Linked DNA regions of Homo sapiens: region 1 is linked to region 2. Evidence: promoter capture Hi-C in human tissues and cell types (Jung and others, 2019). All regions are on one chromosome and are shown on one strand. Each heading gives the region's core, a stretch centred on a gene start or on the middle of the fragment in contact. The rest is flanking DNA. Distances are from core to core; before and after follow the strand shown. Region 1 overlaps HACL2 (2-hydroxyacyl-CoA lyase 2). Region 2 holds the start of TPM4 (tropomyosin 4).

Region 1 (7,626 bases), core at 3,363-5,862, 960 kb before region 2:
CAGCAGTGCCCACGAAGTCCCCGCCATCCACCACCAGAATTGAGTTGTCAGGTAGCGTTTCCTCCACCAGCTGCAGCACCTGCACTGGGTTCAGGTGCTGGGCCACAGGCATCGCTGCCTTCTCCCTGCGACAGGACAGCGAAGGTCACCAGGGTTGGCAGCAGGGTCTGCCGGGAACCCCCTTCCCACATCCACTCCACCCAGGCCCCACCGAAAGGTCTGCTCCTTCTGCCGGTCGGCTTCCCGCAGCTCCTCCACCCAGTCTGGGGCCCAGGTCTGGCCCTGAAGGCCCTCCACTAACTTCAGCACGAAGGAACCCACATCTCCTGGGGAAGGAAGAGGACACAGCTGTGGGGAGCTGGCTTCCTCCTGTTCTTCCAGCATCAGAGGCCTCAAAACAGCAGGAAGCCAGCAGCAGCATCCGAGCAGGCAGACGGGAAGCAGGCCAGGGGTGCTCCTAGAAAAAAAACAGGTGAAACACCCCAGAACCTGCCAGAACCAGGGGAGGGCAGCCCAGGTGAAAAGGGAAGACAAGGCCCAAGAAACAAGGGTTAAGGAGCACAAGGCAGGTGACAAACCCAAGCTGGCCTCGTCCCCTCCCTCCACCTCCTTCTGCCTGGGAAACACTCAATGAAAAGAGCTACATCCACCAAGCACATCTCTCAAATCCAGGCACGTGGAAGCGCACAGCGAACGTTACTGAAGTGAACTAACAAACAGCCCCGTGATGTATCTTTCACCACCCCATTTTTCAAATGATCAAATGGAGGCTCTGAGAAGGTGAGGCTCTGCCGCTGTTCATCTCCAGTTCAGGCCTCCTCGCTTCTGTCCTGGCCATTTTGAGCAGCCCCCCTGGCCTCCACCCAGCCCCCTTCCGGCCTGCCGTCCATGGCTGCTGAGTGGACCTTCCCAACACAGATGCAACGGTGCTACTTCTCTGCTTAATACAAGAGTGTCCTGTCGCCTAGGCTGCAGGGGAGTCAACATCCTCAGAATGATGAACCAAGTTCAAGTCCAAGGGGACTAAAATAAGGGGAGGGGAGAGATACGGCAGGAAGACAGGCTAAGGGGCCAACGAGTGTGCTCTCTGTCCTGAGGGCAGTGGGCAGTGTGGGAGGGAACGTGATCACATGCACGTTTTCAAGCCTCCCTCTGTGTCCACCCCACCATTTGTTCCTACAGAAGCATCTATCAGGCCGGGCGCAGTAGCTCTGGTCTGTAATCCCAGCACTTTTGAGAGGCCGAGGCAGGAGGATCACTTGAGGCCAGGAGTTCCACGCCAACCTGGGCAACACAGTGAGATGCTGATTCCACAAAAAAAAATTAACAAATTAGCCTGGCATGGTGGTGCATACTTGTAGTCCCAGCTACTCAGGAGGCTGAGGTGGGAGGATTGCTTTTGAGCCTGGGAGTTTGAGGGTGCAGTGAGCTGTGATTGCACTACTGCATTCCAGCCTGGGTGACAGAGCGAGACCTCGTCTCTAAAAAATAAAAATAAAAAAAATTTAAAGAAAGAAGCATTCATCAGTTTGAGAGCCAACTATTTGTCTCTGGTTGACTGGCTACCCCTAGGGCAAGGTCTGGGCCTCAATCACTGTACCAGGCTCAAGCCAGCTGCAGCAGAAACCAGGAGGAGAGGGACTGGGAGGAGCACATATGTGTACGGGGGGATTAAGGGGCTCACCCTGCACAGCCTCCTGGGGCTTCCAGAAGATGTCTGAGTTGAGCAACATCTCTTCCCGATTACGATTGACGATGATGATCTTGCTGCTGTGGCTGAGGACACGGCCATAGGATAGGCGGAAGTCACACACAGTTCCTGGTGTGGGGGACAGGAATGCAGTAGGCAGAGGCCCCATGTCGTCTACCTTACTTGATCCACTGTGGTGGACTGGATGCAAATGAGTCCCTGTTCCTCACCGAGTCTCCCTGCACCTGTGCCACCTACAGTGACCTTGCAGCTCCCCACACCCCCTGAATCGGGACTGGCCTCATGACATGCTTTGGCCAACAGGATAGGGCAGAGGCAGGTTATATTTTCCCAGATGGCCATAATATCTCCCACCCTACATCCATTTGTACAAGGTCACCTTGACATGCCTCCCATGGAGAGAGGTGCAGCCTAGGTCCCCTTTCCTTGAAAGTGACACACCATGACACCCAACAAGGAAGATATGCAGTTTCTTCCTTGTTCACTTTTAGAGGCCTGGGTGGGGCCAAGGAATGTGCTCTCTGTCTAAGAAGTCTGACTACCCTGAGGCCATCATGCTGGGAGGAAACCGGAGCCACACATAGAGACCTGTGTAGTTGCCCTAGTCCACAGCCCCTCCAACAGCTGGCGTCAATTGCAAGACCTCTGAGTGAAGACACCTCCAGATGATTCAGGACCCCCACCCCCCATTCCTGCAGACTCTACTTCAAGAAGCCACACAGCCTCCACTCACTCTCTTGAATAACCGCACTCTCCTAGCCCCATAGTTTTCTCATCCTTCACCAAGTCGGCCAGCCCAGGCTAGCCTACTGGAGGATGAGAAACAAGGGGGCCATGGAGACAGGGGTGAAGAACTCTATGACCCCAGCTGAGGCCATCCCAGACGAGCTGCAGGGCCAGCCAATCCCCATACAGGTGAGCAAGCCCAGCCTGGATCAGCACAGCTGCCTTCCTGCCTAACCCAAGTGCAGACTCATGAATGAGCCCAGCCAAAACCACAGCTACCACCTACCTTATAGGTGGATCTTGAGAAATCAGAAATGCATTTTTAGCCATTGAGTTTGGGGATGGTTGTTACAGGGCAGTAGCTATCTGATACACCTATTATGCGTCTGGTTGGGTTCAAAGCGCTTTATGTGAAAATGTGTATCAAGTACAATAGGTGCCCACTAGACCTTCCTCCTCCTTCGTGTGAAGCTGGGTAACAGGGTGAGGGGGTTCCTGGGGGAAGGAGGGAAAGGAAGAGGCTCAGGCCCACCTGCTAGGACAATGACATCCGCCTTCTTCAGGGCCGCACTGCGGTTCTCCCGGATGTGGAGGGGGTGGTTGCGGCCTAACAGCCCCCGTGCCATCCCTCCAAGGAAGCAGGGAACACCCAAGGTCTCCACGGCAGCCCTGGGAGTCCAGGCAGAGCAGAGGTCAGTGTGGCCGGGGCCTCCCGCCTCCCCAAGAGCACCCGAGGACTGGGGACTGGGAACGTGAAAACAAGGGCAGGGCTGGCGCTTCTCACCGAAGCTTGTCGGCAGACGTTGGGGTGAGCAGGGCCTGACTCCCCAGCACCATCAGAGGCCTCTTGGCCCGGCTCAGGATCTCCACACAGCGCTGAACCTGGAGCGAGAGGTGGGGATCAAAGGGCTGTCTTTTTATTTATTTATTTTTTTGAGACACAGTTTCACTCTGTTGCCCAGGATAGAGTGTAATGGCATGATCTCAGCTCACTGCAGCCTCCACCTCCCAGGTTCAAACGATTCTCCCGCCTCAGCCTCCAGAGTAGCTGGGATTACAGGCGCGTGCCACCATGCCTGGCTAACTTTTGTATTTTCAGTAGAGACAGGGTTTCACCATGTTGGCCAGGCTAGTCTTGAACTCCTGGCCTCAAGTGATCCGCCTGCCTCGGCCTCCCTAAGTGTTGGGATTGCTGCTGTGAGCCACCGCGTCCAGCCAAAGGGCCGCCCTTGAGTCGCCATGAGCACCCAAGATTAAGGCCCCAGTACTGACTCAGGGAGAGGGTCAGGGGGCCCTCTCCCCTCAGGGAGAGGGTAGGGTCCTCAGACACAAAAGAGAGGCAATTCACCTGCTGCGGGGAAGCCTGGGGGATGTCCAGGGGCAGCGGTCCCTCGGGCTGAGGCTCCCAGGCTCCTGCAAAGAGGTTGGCCAGGTAATTCTCTAAATACCTGCAAAAGGGAGGGGGAAGAAACCAAGTTGCCAGAATTAACTAACTACAAGGATTCCAGGATCTGAGCAAGGAAAGGGGCCGGGAGAAAAGCCAGGAGCAAAGTGGCATGGGGACAGGGTGGATGAGTGACACCTCAGGGACAGACGAACCCTAGTGGCCAGGTCTTCAACTGCCTGTTTGCCCTCGGTAGCCTCTGGGGTCCACCCCAACTCCACGTAGCCCCCCAGAAGCAAGGAACGCAGGCTCAGCATGCCAGGATTAAGCCTGTGGGTCCAACAGATGTGAGCTCAAGTCCTGGCTCTGTCACTTCCTAGCTGTGCAACTTAGGGCAAGTGACTTCACCCTTCTGAGCTTCCACCTCTGTCAATGTAAATATGAACCTCCCTCCCCAGGTTCAAGGATCTGTCCACTTAGGACATGAGGCGCTTTGCATGGGAGTTCTGAACACTGTCCTCTCCTGCTTCAAACAGGGTCTTCTCGGTCTCCTTGCTCACTGGGCCCCAGGGCCCCAACTTTCCTGAAGGACCTGTGCAGGGCCCTGGAGACACAAAGATAGATCCTGCCCAGCCCTCCCCTCAGGGGGCGCTCTATCCAGCGAAAGACAGACACATGGGCATTGGCAGGAAACAGTCGGAGCTCAGAGTCAGAAGCCTCTGCTTTCACCGTTAAGGACAGGCCAAGACAGCACAGAAGCAGCCCAGGATGGAACCGTGGGAAGCCCCGCAAGTAAAGAAAAGGCAAGGGAGGCTGAGGCAGGAGGATTGCTCGAGGCCAGGAGTTCAAGGCTGTGGTGAGCTATGATCATACCACTGCACTCCAGCCTGGGTGATAGAGTGAGGCCCTGTCTCAAAACAAAACAAAACAAAAAAGGCAAGATAAGAGATAGCCTTGTGAGAGGCAGCCCAAGAGAGAGGGGCAAGGAGAACAAGGGGAGGGACTGACTGGGAAGCCAGGGGGCAAAGTGCATTAAGAATGAGGCTATATGACCAAAATGGTGAAACCTCATCTCTACTAAAAATACAAAAATTAGCTGGGTATGGTGGACTGCACCTGTATTCCCAGCTACTCCGGGGGCTGAGGCAGGAGAATCACTTGAACCCGGGAGGTGGAGGTTGCAGTGAGCCAAGATCGCACTACTGCGCTCCAACCTGGGGGACAAAGCGAGACTCCGTCTCAAAAAAAATAAAGAGGCCATAGAACAAAATCACTACTGCCTGAGCTGACCCTCAGGCGCTTCACACACATCCGGAGTACAGGAGCCTGACTACCTTGTCCACTGATGATGCCCCGTGCCTGTCCTGGAACCTGGCACATGGCTGCCGCTCGCTAAATGTATGGAAAGGAAGGGCCAAGGACAGGCAAAGGGAAGGGACTGAGGGGAAGGGAGAGAAGGAGGAAGAAGAGGAAGAGGAGGAGGAGAAGAAAGGAAAGGAAGAAGAAGAAGAGAAGAGGCCAGGCGCAGTGGCTCATGTCTGTAATGTTTGAGAGGCCGAGGAGGGTGGATCACTTGAGGTTAAGAGTTCAAGACCAGCCTGGCCAACATGATGAAACCTCGTCTCTACTAAAAATACAAGTATTAGCCAGGTGTGGTGGCGGGCGCCTGTAGTCCCAGCTACTCAGAAGGCTGAGGCAGGAAAATCACTTGAACCCAGGGGGAGGCGGAGGTTGCAGTGAGCCGAGATCACGCCACTGCACTCAAGCCTAGGCAACAGAACGAAGAATCTGTTTCAAAAAAAAAAAAAAAGAAAGAAAAGGACAAAGATGTGAGGGAAGGAAAGGAGGAGGAAGGAGAGGGCTCGAGTCTGGGCTCTGCCACTTTTTTTTTTTTTTTTGAGACGGAGTCTTGCTCTGTCACCCAGGCTGGAGTGCAGTAGCACGATCTTGGCTCACTGCAAGCTCCACCTCCTGGGTTCACGCCATTCTCCTGCCGCAGCCTCCCAAGTAGCTGGGACTACAGGCGCCCGCCACCACGCCCGGCTAATTTTTTTTTTTTTTGTATTTTTAGTAGAGATGGGGTTTCACCATGTTAGCCAGGATGGTCTCGATCTCCTGACCTCGTGATCTGCCCACCTCGGCCTCCCAATGTGCTGGGATTACAAGTGAGAGCCACCGCACCCGGCCTGGGCTCTGCCACTTCTTAGCTGTGTGACTTTGGGCAAGTGACTTCACCTTTCTGAGCTTCCTCCTCTGTAAATGTAAGAATGAACCTCCCTTCCGAGGTTCAAGGATCATCCTTTAGGAGGAGGAAAACGGAGAGGACGATGGGAAAGGTGGTGGGGGAAAGGGAGGAGAAGAGGAAGGAAGAGGGAGGAGGAAGAGGAGGAAGAAGAGATGATGGAGGAGGAGAAGAAAGGGAAAAGGAGGAGGAGGAGGGCTGTCCTGAGCCTCTCCCCTTTGCTGCCTCCACGAGGGCCGCCTTGCTTTCCCTACCCACCCAGTTCATTCCTGCCTCAGGACCTTTGCACATGCTGTTCCTTCTACCTGGAATGCTCTCCCCCCAGCTGTCTCCTCCCAGTCCACATGTGAATCAAAGGAGGATGGGTGTGGGCTGGAAGCTGCAGGAGAGAACGGGGGATAAAGGAGGGAATGGCAGGGGTGGGGCTATTCACCAGGAGACCACTCGGCCCACGAGGCCCTTGGGTGGCTTGGCTGGCACCATCTCCTTCTGGACCATGAAGTAGGGGTACAGCACGTCAACGGGCAGCTCCACAAACACCGGACCTGCAGGGACAGGGAGGACGCTGAGTCCATAACATGTCCCCAGCCCCTCGGCCCCAGCACTGCTCAGCATCACCATCCTCCACCTACCTGGGGTGCCCGACTGGGCGGCAGCCATCGCGGCCCTCAGGGTGGGCACAATGTCCCGCACCCTCCGCACAGACACACAAAACTTACAGAGTGGCCGGAAAAGGGACAGCTGATCAACAGCCTGGAGCGCACCCCGGTTCTGGCAAAGACAGAGGTGTGGCAGGGTTATCGCATGAGCCCTTCAAGCCCCCCTAGGCCCCCACTGGCCCCCAAGGACTGGGTACCTGCAGCAGAGTGCTGGCAGCCCCACCCAGAAGCAGGATTGGGGACTGAGCCATCTGAGCATTCTTCACCGCAGTCACCGTGTTGGTGAGGCCAGGGCCTGCTGTCACTGCCGCCACGCCCACCGTCCCTGGAACACAGAGCCCATCACAGCCATGCCCACTCTCTTGGCCATTCTTCCACCTCTGAAAAACCCCTACCCTCACAGACACTCTAGCCCACAGTCCAACCAGTCCCCAGCCCTCTCTGCAATGCCCTCACCGGACAGGCGGGCCATAGCATCAGCAGCAAAGACGGCCGTGACCTCATGGCGTGTGTCCACCACACGGATGCCCAGTTTCTCACAGGCCACCAGCAGCGGGGAAATGTGCCCACCGACCAGCGTGAAGATGAACCGCACACCATGGGCCCTCAGCACAGCGGCCACGTTCTCTCCGCCATGCCGGACGCTTGCCTTGTCCACCTGGGCCCAAGGACAGGTGGAGCAATAAAGTTAAAGGCCAGGGCAGAGGGCAGCTGGGAAAGGGGGCAATCCCCCTGCCCCAGGTAAGGGGGCAGGAGCAGGGTGAGAGGTCAAGAGAAGCTTGGTCTTGGTTAGGCATATATTATACTACATGCCAGGCTCAAACCAAGGCATAACATCTTATCAGATCCTCTTGTCATTACATCCCTCTTACAGCTGAGGACATCAAGGCTTGCCCAAGTAAGA
Region 2 (7,405 bases), core at 665-3,164:
TTGGAGAGGGGGCAAAAGCAAGCATTCAGTTCATTATAGGCTTATATTCCAGAAGACCTGGGCTCAAACCCTGTGCTGTGTGACCTGGGGAAAGTCATCCCACCTCTCTGAGCCTCCTGCTGTGGGGAGGAAGCAGGAGAATGAAGCTGGGCTCAGTGGGGGCTGTCTGCCCACCCTGGGAGCAGGAACAAGATCAGTGTCAAACCATCTAAGGCAAAAGTCAGATCCAAGCCAGGTGTGGCGACTCACGCCTGCAATCCCAGCAATTTGGGAGGCCGAGGCGGGCAGATCACTTGAGGTCAGGAGTTTGAGACCTGCCTGGCCAATATTGCAAAACCCTGTCTCTACTGAAAATACAAAAATTAGTCAGTCGTGGTGGTGTGCACCTGTAGTACCAGCTACCGGGGAGGTTGAGGCAGGAGAATCACTTGAACCCAGGAGGCGGAGGTTGCAGTGAGCTGAGATCGTGCCACTGCACTCCAGCCTTGGTGACAGAGCGAGACTCTCAAAAAAAAAAGTCAGATCCAGGCATGAGCTGGATATGATCACCCTAATCCAGAGTTGGGGGCCCAGGGAGGGAGTTTCAGCCTGGAGGTGACAGAAAAGTCTTCTTGAGCCAACTCTAGACCGGTGTGGTGGGGGGTGACAAAGAGAGGTGATGGGGTCTGTGGTTTGTAATCCATAGGCCTGAGCTTCTCAAACTAGGAGTGATGGGAGGATAGGACTCTTGGGATAAACAGAGGACTGAAAATTTAGGGAAAGTAGGGGACATTTTTATTAAAATGAACATGGCCTATATGCAAAAATTTTAAAGATTTAACCCGAGCCTTCAAAGAAAGTGATCCTGTAGGGGCGAGTCTCTTCTAGCCAAGCTCCCCAAAGCCCAGAAATGAGGGACTAGGTCTGAGCCCTTCAGCCCTTCAGAGTATTTTGGTAAGACAGTCTAAGAACCACTGCCTTGGGCCATAGGGAGCCATAGCAGGTTCTAGGCAGAAAGAGGGCAGGCGTATTTGTTAGAAAGTTTCTCTGACCCCGTGTTGGGGTCAGAACCAGAGGGAGAAAGGCTGGGGACAGGGATGGGCGGAGGGATCCACGCGCAGAGAATGAGATTGCTTAACTCCAGATCATGGTGAGGCTGCACCTCTGAAACTGGAATGTGTGTATTTCTGGAAAACATTTGGAGTCTTCAGTTTCCCAAAAGCTGCCATTGATCTCCCTAGAGTACTGGGGACCCCAATAAGCCCAAAACAGCTGGTCCTCAGGACGAGGGAAAGATGTGAAAATCCCACTATCAGGTAGCATGGATGGCGTGGTGCATGCTATCGCAACCCCTGTTCTACAGATAAGGAAACTGATGCCCAGAGAGAGACGGAGGACTCTTGTGAATATTGGGGGGGACCGCCCCTGCACCTCGGGGACGTGACCCCCCCCCCAGGCTGACCCGTTCCTCGCTCTGTCGTCCCCAGGTGGAGGAGGAGCTGACGCACCTCCAGAAGAAACTAAAAGGGACAGAGGACGAGCTGGATAAATATTCCGAGGACCTGAAGGACGCGCAGGAGAAGCTGGAGCTCACGGAGAAGAAGGCCTCCGACGTACGTGTGCAGGGATGCGGGAGCCCGCGGCGGGGCCAGGCCGGAGCCCCGGGGCCGGGAAGGCGGGGAGAGCCGCAGGGGGAGGAGGAAGAGGAGGAGGAGAAGGCGGCGCCTCCCAGCGCTTTCTCCAAATAAGTCCCGAAAAGGGGCACTTTCCAGCAGCTGTGGCCAGCGGTGCCGACGTCAGGCCCTCCCCCAGCGGTGCTGACGTCGGCGGTCCGGCCGGGTGACCTCATCGCCCCGACGGCAGCCGGCCCGGGGGGCGGGGAGAGGCGGGGGCGGCCCCCGCGCAGGCAAAGGCTTGGGGGGCCGGGGCGCGGCTGTGCAGCTCTCGCCGGAGCCGAGCCCAGCCGAGCGTCCGCCGCTGCCCGTGCGCCTCTGCGCCTCCGCGCCATGGCCGGCCTCAACTCCCTGGAGGCGGTGAAACGCAAGATCCAGGCCCTGCAGCAGCAGGCGGACGAGGCGGAAGACCGCGCGCAGGGCCTGCAGCGGGAGCTGGACGGCGAGCGCGAGCGGCGCGAGAAAGTGAGCGCCCCGGCCTCGGGCCCCGCACCCGCAGCCTCCTCCCCCGCGCGCCCTCCTTTCTTCCCGGCTTCCCGCGCTGCCCGCCCGCGCGCAGTCCTCGGGCCGCCTTTTTACGCCCTCGGACGCCGATCGCCGACCCACATCCCTGCGCCCGCAGCCAGGACCCCCTACTTCCTCCGCCGTCCTCCTTCCTGGGCCTGGGACAGGGGAGGGGGCGCCGCCTCCGGGTCGGGCGGGGCCGGCCAAGCGGGAAATGGGGGGATGGGGCGGAGGGGGTGAGCGATCTCCGGGTGGAGAAGTGGAGCGGCGGGAGGGGGCGTATCGTGCAGGCTCCGACTCCGGGGCTGGCGCCGGGGTCCCGGGCCGAGGGGAACCCGCGACCGGACTTGTGGGGGAGAATGAGGATGAAAACGTGGAGCTTCCATTGTCTAGGGTTTGACCGGCCGACAGGGATTTCGACGGGGGACCGGGGATCTGGGGAGGGGGTCGCACTTTCTCGCCTCTTTCGCGGCTTCCCGGCTTCTGCTTGCTTCCCTGACCGTTCCCAGGGGCGCGGCGGCGACGTGTCTGCTCCAGGCGGCGGGGGGGATGGGGGGTGGAGGAAGTTCAGCCCCAAGCCGCCCGCCTTTCTCCAGCTGATTCCTGCGGGAACCGGGGCGGCGGGACCCTGCCTCTCTCCAGAAGGCCCCGGGAACGCTGGCGCGGGGCCCTGAACCCACGATCGTTTGAGCGCCTGCTGTGCGCCTCCGCCGCGAGTCGCAGGGCCCGAGATAAACAATGGGTCTGAAAAAGGAGGGAGTTTCACCATCCTCTCTGCATCATCCTCCTGGCTGTCCCTCGGGACAGATGGTGGCACCGCCAGGGTCTGGGGACAGATTTGGATTCTGGTCCCATATCATGCCACCCACAGGCTTCATGACTTGGTATTTGCTCTCTAGGAGCTTTTTTCCCATCTGCGAGTAGGACTGATAAGAATCCCGACCCCCCAGAGTAGCAGGGAGGGTCCCAGGAGTAAATCTCAGGCGTGGAGCCTGGCGCTTTGTAAATAATCAATTGTGTTGTTGTTTTTTGTTGTTTTGTTTTTGAGGCAGTCTCACTCTGTCGCCCAGGCTGGAGTGCAGTGGTGCGATCTCGGCTCGCTGCAACCTCCACCCCCCGAGTTCAAGAGATTCTCCTGCTTCAGCCTCCCGAGTAGCTGGGATTACAGGTGCCCGCCACCACGCCCAGCTAATTTTTTTTTTTTTATTTTGGATTTTTAGTAGAGACAGTGTCTCACCATGCTGGCCAGGCTGGTCTCGAACTCCTGACCTCGTGATCTGCCCACCTTGGCCTCCCAAAGTTCTGGGATTACAAGCGTGAGCCACGGCGCCCAGCCTCAATTGTGTTTTCTCTGCCCTGGGAAGAGCTCATAGACAAATGGAGGCAGGGGAGCTGACTCACTGATGGAGCGAGGTCTGCATTCCACGGGTTTTCTGTGCAGTTATGGGAGCATGACAGGGGAGGCTCCAAAATGGAGGTTGAGCTGGGTCTTATAGAATAAATAAGTTTGCTGGGACCAGAGACATGGGTGTGCACAGACTCAGAGGCAAGAAAGTTGTATGATGAGGGTGGGGGGGTGTGCGGATAGAGGTTGAAGCCCAAAAGCCCTGAAAGTTCAGTGTTGAGGCTCAGGGTGGGGACCCTAGAGAGGCAAAAGATGCCCAGCCAGATGGAATTGGTGGTGTGAATTGCCAGGACTGGAAAGAGCCCAGATGGGGGCTGCAGCATGGGCCTTGGTTGAAGCCTCTAATCCTGTAAGGGCTGCTTTGGCCCAAGAGGCCTTAGAAACCCGGTGTAAGCCTCAATCGGTAGCCGGTCTGGCCTCTTTCTCACACTTAACCGACACAGCTCTTGCTCTGATCTCATCCCAAGTCATCTCGCTGGAGGACAATTAACTCGGCTTCAAAATGGCCCTCAGCCTGGAGCCAAGATTTAGGAGCAAGACCGTCTAGTTGGGAGAGAAGATGTTTTTGGAGAGTTGAAGACTTCTTGAAAAAGTTCGAAAAGTTCTTGAAAAAGCAAAGGATGCTTCTTTCCGTCTGGGAGAGGGAAAACCTCTCCCAGGGCAAAAGGAACTAAGACCAGGGGTGGGTTAAAAAAAAAAAAAAAAAAACCTTTCACTCTTGTAGAATAAGCCAGGAGCCGGCGTGTGGTAGACTTCTGGGCCTGTTTCCCGACAGCTGGTTTCGTTTAGATTTTTGTGTGATTAACTGACATCTTCCTGTTCCTTTGCCACATGTATCTAGCAAGCCTCTTTTACCTTATAAGGGAAATCCTTTGTAGCGTGTGGAAGGCTTTGATTGCAGGAAGGGGTGGAACCCAAAATGACTCGGCCGTGACTAGCAGTTTTTCAAAAATACATATATATGTATGCATGTACAGATATGCGTGTATCTCCCAACTCCAGACAGCTGAAAATCTGCCAAAAGCGTTGTTTGCCAGGATTCAGAATTTCCCACATAAGGGCTACTCACTTCTTAAAAGACAACTCATGAATCAAGCACCTCTGTTTGATCTTTAAAATCAATTCCTCGACTGCTAATGGGTACACAGTTTTTTGTTTGTTTGTTTGTCTTTGGCGGGTTATGAAAATGTCCTGGAATTCGATAATGGTGTTGGTTGCAGAGTGTTTTTGCAACATCAGTTCCTGGCCCAGTTACTGAAGGTGGTAGGAGGAGTTAAGATCTAGGCAATTAAAAAGAATGAAAGGCACCCATTCATGGGAAGGCCTCAGTGACGTTTCTTAAGACAGTTTCATCAGTGGTTTTCACAATTCTCTGCATTTGGTGTTTCAGAGGACACTGCAATACGAAACACCTGTGGGAGTGCCCTCTTTCTGCTTCTAGGAATCTGAGGCTGAGAAACCTTCCTGACTCTATTTGTGTAGTTTTTCGGCCACGTTAGCCTCATTCTATTTTTTTTTCCCCCAGTATGAACTCAGGGCAGGAGAGGGAGTGGTTTCCTAATAATTTTTTTTTTTTGAGACGGAATCTTGCTCTGTTACCCAGGCTGGAGTGCAGTGGCGCGATCTCGGCTCATTGCAACCTTCACCTCCCGGGTTCAAGCGATTCTCCTGCCTCAGCCTCCCAAGTAGCTGGGATTACAGGCGCCTGCCCCCACACCCAACTGATTTTTTTGTATTTTTAGTAGAGATGCGGTTTCACCATGTTGGCCAGGCTGGTCTCGAACTCCTGACCTCATGTGATCCACCCACCTCCGCCTCCCAAAGTGTTAGGATTACGGATGTGAGCCACCGCGCCCGGCCTTCCTAATAATTTTGATAGCCTTCCCCAGTTCAGGGATTCTTCATTTGTTCTGATAGGAAAAAGCTAGCGTGGCTTCCCTTTTCCTCTCGGTTGAGGCCCGTTTGACCCGTTCTCAATATTCCTTCCAAAGAGCAGGCATCGCTGGAAAACTCGCCTTGCCTCGTAGCCCTGGCAGGACCTAGGGGACAGGTTCTGACAAGGAAGAGCCCTGGGTGGGTCTTAAGAGGCCATTCATTTCTTACCAATTCTGAGTCACTGAATAAAACCACTTCCCCCAGTGGGGCCCCTCGGTTTCTTCACCTGTAAAATGGGTGCGATGTGTGAGGATGAAATTGCAGTAAAATAAAACCGTGGCAGTAAGAGATGCCTTTCTCTGGCACATCCCACCTGCTGGGCATAAGCGGCGCCACCCTCTGGAGTTACAGCCTCAAGGCAGTCCGGTAACTAATCAGGCTTTGGGATGGAGAGGGCCAGGATGAGGAAGCAACCTTCCCAACACCACGTGGCTGTGAAAATGACAAAGCACGGTCGGGCGCAGTGGCTCACGCCTGTAATCCCAGTACTTTGGGAGACCAAGGCGGGTGGATCACGTGAGGCCAGGAGTTTGAGACCAGCCTGACCAACAAGACGAAACCCTGTCTCTACTAAAAATACAAAAAAATAGCAAGGCGTGGTGGTGTCCGTCTGTAATCCCAGCTACTCAGGAGGCTGAGGCAGAATTGCTTGAACCCGGGAGGTAGAAGTTGCAGCAAGCCGAGATCATGCCATTGCACTCCAGCCTTGGTGACGGCGCAAGACTCCATCTCAAAAAAAAAATTAAAAAGAAAATGACAAAGCGGGGATTCCAGCCCAGCACTTTTTGGCCCTGGAGTTCCTGGTTTAATGCTTCCCATTGTACTTCCTTTCTTGTAGGTAAAAACACCTTGAAAAGCCAATAACACTATTGGGGTATGTCTTCCATGCCTGCAACCAAGTTTTCTTTCCCTTTCCATATCTTTTTGTCCTGCCATCTCTCAGCCAGGCGGATTGAAGGATGGAATTCCAACGAGGCTCCCCCGCCTCGTCCCACCTTGGTAATTGCATGGCCAACATTTAACTGAGGGCTCCATAGTCTTGCATTTATCTTGCCATTCAGGTGAATGGGAGCGGAACTCACAGGACACAATGAGCCGGGTCACTGATGGCCTTGCTTTCTAAGAATCTCACAGTGAGCCCTAGAACTCTCTACGTGGTAACACTGTGTGCCTTTTTCAGAGAAGAGCCTATCTTAGATCTTAGCCTAACGTTGGGTCTATTGTGTTGCTGGAGAGACCAGCACTGACATTCATCTCAAAGCACATGGTATGTTTGACTCCTATGTTGACTCAACTACCCATCTTGTACTGGGACACTCGCTTTTTTTTTTTTTTTTTGAGACGGAGTCTTGCTCTGTCACCAGGCTGGAGTGCAGTGGCACGATCTCAGCTCACGGCAACCTCCGCCTCCCGGGTTCAAGTGATTCTTCTGCCTCAGCCTCCTGAGCATGTGGAACTACAGGCACGTGCCACCACACTCAGCTAATTTTTCTATTTTTAGTAGAGACAGGGTTTCACCACGTTGGCCAGGATGGTCTCGATCTCTTGACCTTGTGATACACCCACCTCAGCCTCCCAAAGTGCTGGGATTACAGGCATGAGCCACCACGCTTGGCGATGCTCATCTTTTGCTATGGAGTGGTAGATGTTTTTCCCAGACATTTTCCGGGAAGATCATACTGAAATTTTGGTATGAGTGTAAATTCCCTATGGCCTGGACTCCTGGGTGGGCTTTGACGGGGAAGATCAGGTTAACAGAGGGCAGGACATGGGGGAGGCTCCCACTGGTGGCTGGCCTGATACTTCTTAACATGGCTGCACCTCCGACCTCCCCAGGCTGAAGGTGATGTGGCCGCCCTCAACCGACGCATCCAGCTCGTTGAGGAGGAGTTGGACAGGGCTCAGGAAC

The links. Contacts are between HindIII fragments. The study calls those that stand out against the background at their distance.
Region 1: a contact is called between a fragment that was not itself captured here and the fragment with the promoter of TPM4 in region 2, in 1 of the 25 tissues and cell types used here (aorta).

Annotation. Positions count from the first base shown.
Region 1 is chr19:15,116,197-15,123,822 of GRCh38, forward strand. It overlaps HACL2 (2-hydroxyacyl-CoA lyase 2), which reads right to left. Exons shown (of 16, transcript NM_006844.5): 3 at 7,179-7,380; 4 at 6,920-7,047; 5 at 6,696-6,834; 6 at 6,497-6,608; 7 at 3,786-3,885; 8 at 3,222-3,319; 9 at 2,970-3,106; 10 at 1,685-1,819; 11 at 212-326; 12 at 1-125. Among named protein-coding and RNA genes, the nearest start is that of ILVBL-AS1, 4.2 kb to the right of the region's middle. The HindIII fragment of the contact is 6,371 bases long and covers 1,428-7,626 here.
Region 2 is chr19:16,074,581-16,081,985 of GRCh38, forward strand. It overlaps TPM4 (tropomyosin 4), which reads left to right and starts at 1,915. Exons shown (of 8, transcript NM_003290.3): 1 at 1,915-2,117; 2 at 7,333-7,405. The coding sequence starts at 1,986. RefSeq lists enhancers at 799-1,528, 1,529-2,256, 2,257-2,986, 3,905-4,124, 4,235-4,284 and 3 more and a silencer at 1,565-2,474. The HindIII fragment of the contact is 17,695 bases long and covers 1-7,405 here.